2 separate regions of the Homo sapiens genome follow, and region 2 is linked to region 1. Evidence: promoter capture Hi-C in human tissues and cell types (Jung and others, 2019). All regions are on one chromosome and are shown on one strand. The core of a region is centred on a gene start or on the middle of the fragment in contact, and the rest is flanking DNA. Distances in the headings are between cores, read along the strand shown. Region 1 holds the start of TRPV2 (transient receptor potential cation channel subfamily V member 2). Region 2 overlaps LRRC75A (leucine rich repeat containing 75A).

Region 1 (4,099 bases), core at 765-3,264:
TACAAAATTAGCCAGACATGGTGGTGCATGCCTGTAATCACAGCTACTCAGGAGGCTGAGGCAGGAGAATCACTTGAACCTAGGAGGCGGAGGTTGCGGCGAGCTGAGATCGTGCCATTACACTCCAGCCTGGGCAACAAGAATGAAACTCCGTCTCAGAAAAAAAAAAAAAAAAGAAAGAAAAAAAGAAAAATTTGTCATCTGTGTGCTATCCGATATGGTAGCCACTAGCCACATGTGCCAACTGAGCATTTAAAATGTGGCTAATGGGACAGCAGAACTGAATGTTTACTGTTATTTTATTATGTATTTATTTTTGAGACAGAGTTTCCCTCTTGTTGTCCAGGCTGGAGTGCAATGGCACAATCTTGGCTCACTGCAAGCTCTGCCTCCCAGGTTTAAGCGATTCTCCTGCCTCAGCCTCCCAAGTAGCTGGGATTACAGGCACGTGCCACTACGCCTGGCTATTTTTTTTTATTTTTAGGAGAAATGGGGTTTTGCCATATTGGCCAGGCTGGTCTCGAATTCCTCACCTCAAGTGATCCACCTACCTTGGCTTCCCAAAGTGCTGGGATTACAGGTATGAGCCACCGCGCCTGGACTAATTTTGTATTTTTAGTAGAGATGGGGTTTCACTATGTTGGTCAGGCAGGTCTGGAACTCCTGACCTCAGGTGATCCACCCACCTCAGCTTCCCAAAGTGCTGGGATTACAAGCGTGAGGCCTATTATAATTGATTTAAATCTAAACAGTCATTGTGGCTAGTGACTATCTTATTGGATGGCGCAGGCCTAGAGTGTAATGTGCATGACAGGGTTGCCATGAGTGACGGATAGCGATGGAGAAGGGCATCTGGACTTTGAGGGCTCATGGTATGGAGTTTGCATTTTATTCCAAGCACCATGGGTGAGGTTTTGTGATTAAGTCAAGGCGTTAGGTGACCTGGTTTTCTTTTTTTTTCTTTTTTGACACAGAGTCTCGCTCTGTTGTCCAGGCTGGTGTGCAGTGGCACAATCTCAGCTCACTGCAACTTCCGCCTCCCAGGTTCAAGCGATTCTCCTGCGTCAGCCTCCCAAGTAGCTGAGATTACAGGTGCCCACCACCATATCCAGCTAATATTTGTATTTTTAGTAGAGATGGGGTTTTGCCATGTTAGCCAGGCTGGTCTTGAACTCCTGACCTCAAGTGATCCATGCACCTCGGCCTCCCAAAGTGCTGGGATTACAGGTGTGAGCCACTGCGCCCGGCCCTGGTTCCCATTTTTAAAAGGTCACTTCAGTTGCTATAAGGAGAAATGGATTATGAGTGTGGGGCAAGAATGAAGCAGGGAGACCAGTTTGGAGGTGGCTGCAGTTGCCCAGGGGAGCAGTGATAGTGGCTTGGACCACTCAGAAAGACAAATTTTGGAGGAAGAGCTGATGCCAGGTTTTGGGAGTGAGGGAGAGAGATTCCTAGGGCTACTTCGGTGGTGGTTGGGTCCCCAAGCTCCAAGACTGAGTCCAGACCAGGGCCCCGTTGGTGGTGAGGTCTGATTTTAGCAGTGCGTGCCCACCTCCTTGTCTCCACCTGCTGGCTGGTGCTTGGAGCACCTTTAGGGGAACTTTAGCCATCAGAGTCCTGGGGTCAGGAGGCTGGGAGAAGGTCCTGGGAGGTGGGAAAGTCCCCCAACTGCTGGGTGGATGGGTGGGTGGGACTGTGTTCCCAGGGGCATCTGCTGGGCTGAGCCTCTCCCTGGGGGCTGTCCACATCAGCTTTCTCCCCTGCCATGGGTCAACTCAGGCCCATTTATGGGCCACACGGCTGCTTGGAAGGCATGTGGTGGAGAAGGGGAGGAGATAGCTGTCAGTGGACTTGGGGAAGAATCCCCCATCCATGGCAGCTTCCATGGGTGGCAAGTCCCCAGCATCCAAGGGCTGCCTCTGAGTGTCACCCACCCCCACCTGAGACCTTAGTGGCTAGAAGGGGGAGGGGTGGGGGTGGAGCCTGATTCGCAGCAGGGTGTGTCCAGATGGTCAGTCTCTGGTGGCTAGCCTGTCCTGACAGGGGAGAGTTAAGCTCCCGTTCTCCACCGTGCCGGCTGGCCAGGTGGGCTGAGGGTGACCGAGAGACCAGAACCTGCTTGCTGGAGCTTAGTGCTCAGAGCTGGGGAGGGAGGTTCCGCCGCTCCTCTGCTGTCAGCGCCGGCAGCCCCTCCCGGCTTCACTTCCTCCCGCAGCCCCTGCTACTGAGAAGCTCCGGGATCCCAGCAGCCGCCACGCCCTGGCCTCAGCCTGCGGGGTAAGTCGGTGGGCAATGCTGGGGACGTTGGAGGGGGCCGGGTCTCCAAGCCTGACAGTGAATGATGGGGTGGGGAAGGCCTAGTGGGCTCCTGGCTTCTACAGCCTGGAGCCAGGGTCTGTGTGGGGCTCCAGCACCCTCTCCCTGGACCTCCACACCCCTTCCTCTGCTGCCAGGGTGGGTGAGGGTCCCAGGAGGTGGGGTGGGGGCTGGACAGACAACTGTTGCTGCTGGGGCTTGGGAGTCTAGGGCTGGAGGAATGGGCCAGGGTTTGGTTGGGGACACAGATGGGCTAAACGGTATGAAACGGAAAGAGCACCCTTCTGCCCCAGTGTGTGTAGAAAGGGTGGTGGGTCACATCTGCAAACTGAGGCAGCCAGGCAGCTCCCCACCTCCCATGTTTCCATGGGAAAATACCCCACCCGGGTCCCCAGGGCCTGGTCCCAGCCTACCCTCTCCACTTCCCTCTGCTGGTGCCGCTCCTCTCTGCTCTCTGCCCCCTGCCCCCTGCCCCCTTCTCCACCCTTCTGTCTCCTTACCACTCTTTGACTCCTTCTTCTTTCTGATCCTGCTCACTGGGCCCATGAGGGTTCCCCAACCCTGACCGAGGCCCCACCCTTGCCAAGTGATGGAGGCTGTGGTTTCAGTTTTCCTGTGAGGGTGAGATTGTGCTGTTTGCTGAGCTTCCTAGGCCAGCCTAGGGCCTGAGGCAGCGTGGTGGAGAGAGCCTGGGCCACAGGCTAGGGGCCTCCCTCCCTTCGTGAAGCCCCCAGAGGCCCTGAGGCACACAAAGGTAGTATTCGATGCCTTCAGAGCTGAATCAGACTGAAAATATAGACAGACCCTGAAAGGCTTTGAAAACGGAAGAGGAACGTCATGGTAGACGCATGGTGTCAGATCCGGCTCTGCCAACAACTGGCGACCTTGGGAAAGCCACTCCCCCTTTCTAAGCCTTAGTAGTCTTGGCAGCAAAATGAAGGGTTTGATAGTCTAGTGGTTTTCCCAGTTATTTCTTCTTAGAGCTCCCCTTCTTTGGCGAGGGGTTGAGTGACTGGCCCCATCCCAGTCATCGCACTTTTATCTGTTGGAATATTGGCTGCCAGGCAAGACGTTGTGTAAAGAAAGGGTTGTGCTGTTAATGTAAATGGTAACAGGGGTTGTGACCCCTCAGATTCCAGGAAGTCCCAGAGGAAAAGTCGGGGACAGTCATGGCTCTTCCTGGGGGACAACATCAAAAGGGTGGCCCTATTGGTTCCCTGTTCCTCACCCCACAGGCCTCCCTCCCTCTCCTCACCCCTGCTGCTCATCCCTCCTGGCCCACTTCCCCTGCATTGGGGCTGGGCTCCCACACAGTGGGTGGACCTACTTGCACTTGGCATTTTTGCCATTAGAAGTAATGAGAAGTAATGGCAAAAACCGCAATTTTTTTTTTTTTTTTTTTTGAGACAGAGTCTTGCTCTGTTGCCCAGGCTGGAGTGCAGTGGTGCCATCTTAGCTTCCGGGTTTAAGCAATTCTCCTGCCTCACCCTCCCTAGTAGCTGGGATTACAGGCACAAGCCACCATGCCCAGCTAATTTTTGTATTTTTTTTAGTGGAGATGGGGTTTCACCATGTTGGTCAGGCTGGTCTCTAACAGCTGACCAGCCAGCCTCAGCCTCCCAAAGTGCTGGGATTACACCCAGCCACCACGCCCAGCCTTTTGCACTAACCTAATACCTCCTTTTGCAGGCTCCAGTCAGGCCAACACCGACGCGCAGCTGGGAGGAAGACAGGACCCTTGACATCTCCATCTGCACAGAGGTCCTGGCTGGACCGAGCAGCC
Region 2 (4,099 bases), core at 495-2,994, 40 kb after region 1:
CTTCCTGGGTCCCCTCGGCCTATCACCATTAGATCACACCCTTTGTCCAATCGCATTTCTACAAGCTTGTGCACTCTTTACCAAGCCTGAGTATAAAAACAGATAGCTGGCTGAGTGTGGTGGCTCACGCCTGTAATCCCAGCACTTTGGGAGGCCGAGGTGGGTGGATCACCTGAGGTCAGGAGTTCGAGACTAGCCTGGCCAACACGGCGAAACTCCATCTCTACTAAAAATACAAAAAATTAGCTAGGCATGGTGGCGGGCACCTGTAGTCCCAGCTACTTGGTAGGCTGAGGCAGGAGAGTTGCTTGAACCCAGGAGGTGGAGGGTCCAGTGAGCCGAGATCACGTCATTGCACTCCAGCCTGGGCAACAGAGTGAGACTCTGTCAAAAAACAAACAAACAAACAGGCCAGGCGTGGTGGCTCATGCCTGTAATCCCAGCACTTTGGGAGGCAGAGGGGGGCGGATCACCTGAGGTTGGGAGTTTGAGACCAGCCTGACCAACATGGAGAAACCCCATCTCTACTGAAAATACAAAATTAGCCAGGCATGGTGGTGCATGTCTGTAATCCCAGCTGCTCGGAAGGCTGAGGCAGGAGAATCGCGTGAACCCAGGAGGCAGAGGTTGAGGTGGGCCGAGATCACGCCACTGCACTCCAGCCCGGGCAACAAGAGCAAAATTCCGTTTTAAAATAAATAAATAAATATAATTAAAATAAACAAATTCTAACAAACAAAAAACCAAAAAAACAAAAAAACCTCTTTCCCTGGGGTTTGGGGTCTTCATTTCTTTCTTTTTTTAAAGAGATGGGGGTCTCACTATATTGGCCTTGCTGGTATTGAATTCCTGGACTCATGTAATCCTCCTGTATCAGCCTCCCAGGTAGCTGGGGCTAAGGGTCCTCATTTCTTTTCTTTTCTTTTCTTTTCTTTTTTTTTTTTAGTGACGGAGTCTTGCTCTGTCCCCGCCCTCAGGCTGGAGTACAGTGGCACCATCTCAGCTCATTGCAACCTCCGTCTCCCAGGTTCAAGTGATTCTCCTGGCTTAGCCTCCCGAGTAGCTGGGATTACAGGCGCGTGCCACCACGCCCAGCTAATTTTTGTATTTTTAGTAGAGACAGGGTTTCACTATGTTGGCCAGGTTGGTCTTGAACTCCTGACCTCAGACGATCCGCCTGCCTCGGCCTCCCAAAGTGCTGGTATTACAGGTGTGAGCCACCGTGCCTCACCTGAGCGTCTTCATTTCTGAAAGCTCCCATGTTGCGTAAAATTTTGATTAAACACATTTGTTCTGCTTTTTTGTTACCCTGTGTCTGGTTATAGGAGTGTCAGCCATGACCCTTATAATGAGTGAGGGAAAAGTACCACACAGTTCTGCCCTACAATTTTTTTTTTTAGACGGAGTCTTGCTCTGTCGCCCGGCTGGAGTGCAGTGGCGCAATCTCAGCTCAATGCAACCTCCATCTCCCAGATTCAAGCGGTTCTCTTGCTTCAGCCTCCCGAGTAGCTGGGACTACAGGCACCCGCCATCCATGCCCGGCTAATTTTTTTTGTATTTCTATTAGAGACGGGGTTTCACCATGTTGGTCAGGCTGGTCTCAAATCCTGACCTCAAGTGGTCCACCTGCCTCGACCTCCCTAAGTGCCCTACAAACTATAGTCCCATACCTTACTACAACCCTATGAGACAGGTATTATTAATAACCCCGCTTTACAAATGAGGGAACTGAGGCAAAAAGAACTTAAATAGATGGGCAAGGCCTCCCAGCTTGTAAGACGGAGTCAGGATCTAAAGTCAGCCAGCTCTGAGGCTGATGCTCCTAACCGCTATCTGCTGCCCTCCTTGTGAGAAATCCTGTCTTTGGCTTAGGTCAGTTCAAAGTGTTTCTATCATTTACAACCAGAAAAGCCTTCAGTGAGACTGTCTCATTTTTTCCCAACTCTTCCACTTTTCAAAGAACCCCTCCAGGGCTCCCTCCTGCAGAGAACAGGACTAGGCAGCACTGGCCCAGAAGTGGAGCAGTAAGAAGGTGGGGAACGGGGGGAGGGAGAGGAGGAGAAGGAGGAAGAGGAAGAGGGAGAGGAGGAGGAGGAAGGGGAGGGGGAGGAGGAGGAGTAGCAGTAGTAGGAGGAGGAGGAAGAGGAGGGAGAGGAGGAGGAAGAGGAGGGGTAGGAGGAGGAAGAGGAGGAAGGAGGAGGAAGAGGAGGAGGAAGAGGAGGAAGAAGAGGAGAAAGGAGGAGAAGAAGGAAGAGGATCAGGAAGAGGAGGAGGAGGAAGAGGAGGAGGAAGAGAAGGAAGAGGAGGAGGAGGAAGAGGAGAAGAAGGAAGAGGAGGAGGAAGAGAAGGAAGAGGAGGAGGAAGAGAAGGAAGAGGAGGAGGAAGAGAAGAAGGAAAAGGAGGAAGAGGAGGAGGAGGAAGAGGAGCAGAAGAAGGAAGAGGAGGAGGAAGAGGAAGAAGAGGAGAAGGAGAAAGAAGAGGAGGAGGAAGAGGAAGAGGAGGAGGAAGCTGGACTTGACACTGAGACACACATACCCTAACTCCTCCAGTGGCTGGAACCCTGAGAAGTAACCTGGGAGCCATAGCTAGCCACATTCCCTACCATGCGGCAGGGGGAAGAGCAGTCTGTGCAGAGGGAACACAGAGGGAGGCAGGGTAGAGCAGCGAGGAGGGAAGGAGGGACCTCTGCACCGTGCTTATCTATAGTTCTAGCACCTTGGTCTAACTTGGCTGCCCGTGGGCACCACAAGACACCTCGATATCTGTAGAACACATTTTCTTCCTTGCTGGAGCCAGCCCGCCTGGGCTTCTGTTATGTGCAGCAGAATCCTAACCCGCCCAGAAGGCTCAATGGCTGTGTGCTGAATCAATGCTTTGCAGTCCTCCCCCGATCCCTGAAGATGGCAGGAGTGGGATGTGGCACAGTCAAGTGACTATGAGTGCAGGTCAGGGCAGCAGCCTCTCCAGACCTTCCCAGTGAGGCTGCCCAGGTCCTGGGGCAGAACGTGTTTGAGGGGCTTCTCATTAATCTGTCAGGAAAGATGACGTGCTGACCTGCAGGCTGACCTGGGAGGGGTACCAGCACCCGACACTGCTCTGGCTCTCAGCCATCAGGCAGTGATACCATCTGCCATCTTCACTCCCCAGGCACCTCTGTAACTGCTCCAGGACCCCGACAAGCACAGCCCTCCACTGCCCTCCATTCAAGGCTATCCCTCCCTCATCCATAAATTCATTCATACATTCATCAAATGTTGACTGTCCCCCTCATTACACTGGACACCATTCCAGATGCAGAGACTGTGTGCCGGCTTTTCTGTTTCCTCTTGCCCCACAGTCCACTCTGCCCTTCTCTGCTCAGAAGGCTGGGCTCTAGAGACTGCATCACTGGGCTCTCTTCCCCCTGGCTTCCACTTGGGTTCAGCTAATGGGAGCAATGGCAGCAAGACCAGAGGGCAGGAGGAGAGACGGATGGGGGAGTTTATTCTGATTCCCCCACTTCGGCATGTGCAGCCGCCGGCCTCCAAGACAGCCTTGCTGCTCTCGGCTCCTGGCATCTGTGCCCCTGTGTAATGTCCTTCCACATTGTAGCAGGGCTGGTCTAAGTGAGCAACAGAATCATTAGAACCAATAGAATGGTGGAAATGATGGTTTGTGACTTCTGAGACTGGGTCTTAAAAGGTATTGTGGGGGTTGGGCTCACACCTGCAATCCTAGTGCTTTGGGAGGCCAAGGGAGGGGGATTGCTTGAGGCCAGGAGTTTGAGACCAGCCTTGGCAACATAGTGAGTGCCCCGTCTCTACAAGAAAAAAAAAAACAAAAAATTAGCTAGGCATGGTGGTGCCTGCCTGCAGTCCCAGCTACTTGGGAAGGTGAGGTGGGAGGATCACTTGAGCCTAGTAGTTCCAGGCTGCAGAAAGTTATGATCACACCTCTGCACTCCAGCCTGGGCATCAGAGTGGGACCCTGTCTCAAAACAAACAAACAAACAAATACAAACAACAACAACAACAAAAAAGCAAGGCCAGGCATAGTGGCTCACACCTGTAATCCCAGCACTTTGGAAGGCCAAGGTGGGTGGATCACCTGAGGTCAGGAG

The links. The method cuts DNA at HindIII sites, captures the fragments that hold promoters and counts their contacts. A contact is called where the count stands out against the background at its distance.
Region 2: a fragment that was not itself captured here is called in contact with the fragment with the promoter of TRPV2 in region 1 in 1 of the 25 tissues and cell types used here (neural progenitor cells).

Annotation. Positions count from the first base shown.
Region 1 is chr17:16,413,557-16,417,655 of GRCh38, forward strand. TRPV2 (transient receptor potential cation channel subfamily V member 2) reads left to right here and starts at 2,015. Exons shown (of 15, transcript NM_016113.5): 1 at 2,015-2,277; 2 at 4,006-4,099. RefSeq lists enhancers at 1,846-1,965, 2,916-2,985, 3,246-3,295, 3,636-3,745 and a silencer at 2,686-2,805. The HindIII fragment of the contact is 18,759 bases long and covers 1-4,099 here.
Region 2 is chr17:16,454,001-16,458,099 of GRCh38, forward strand. All of the region lies in intron 2 of LRRC75A (leucine rich repeat containing 75A), which reads right to left. All of the region lies in intron 3 of SNHG29 (small nucleolar RNA host gene 29), which reads left to right. Among named protein-coding and RNA genes, the nearest start is that of SNORD65, 15 kb to the left of the region's middle. RefSeq lists enhancers at 2,381-2,882, 2,883-3,382. The HindIII fragment of the contact is 8,128 bases long and covers 1-4,099 here.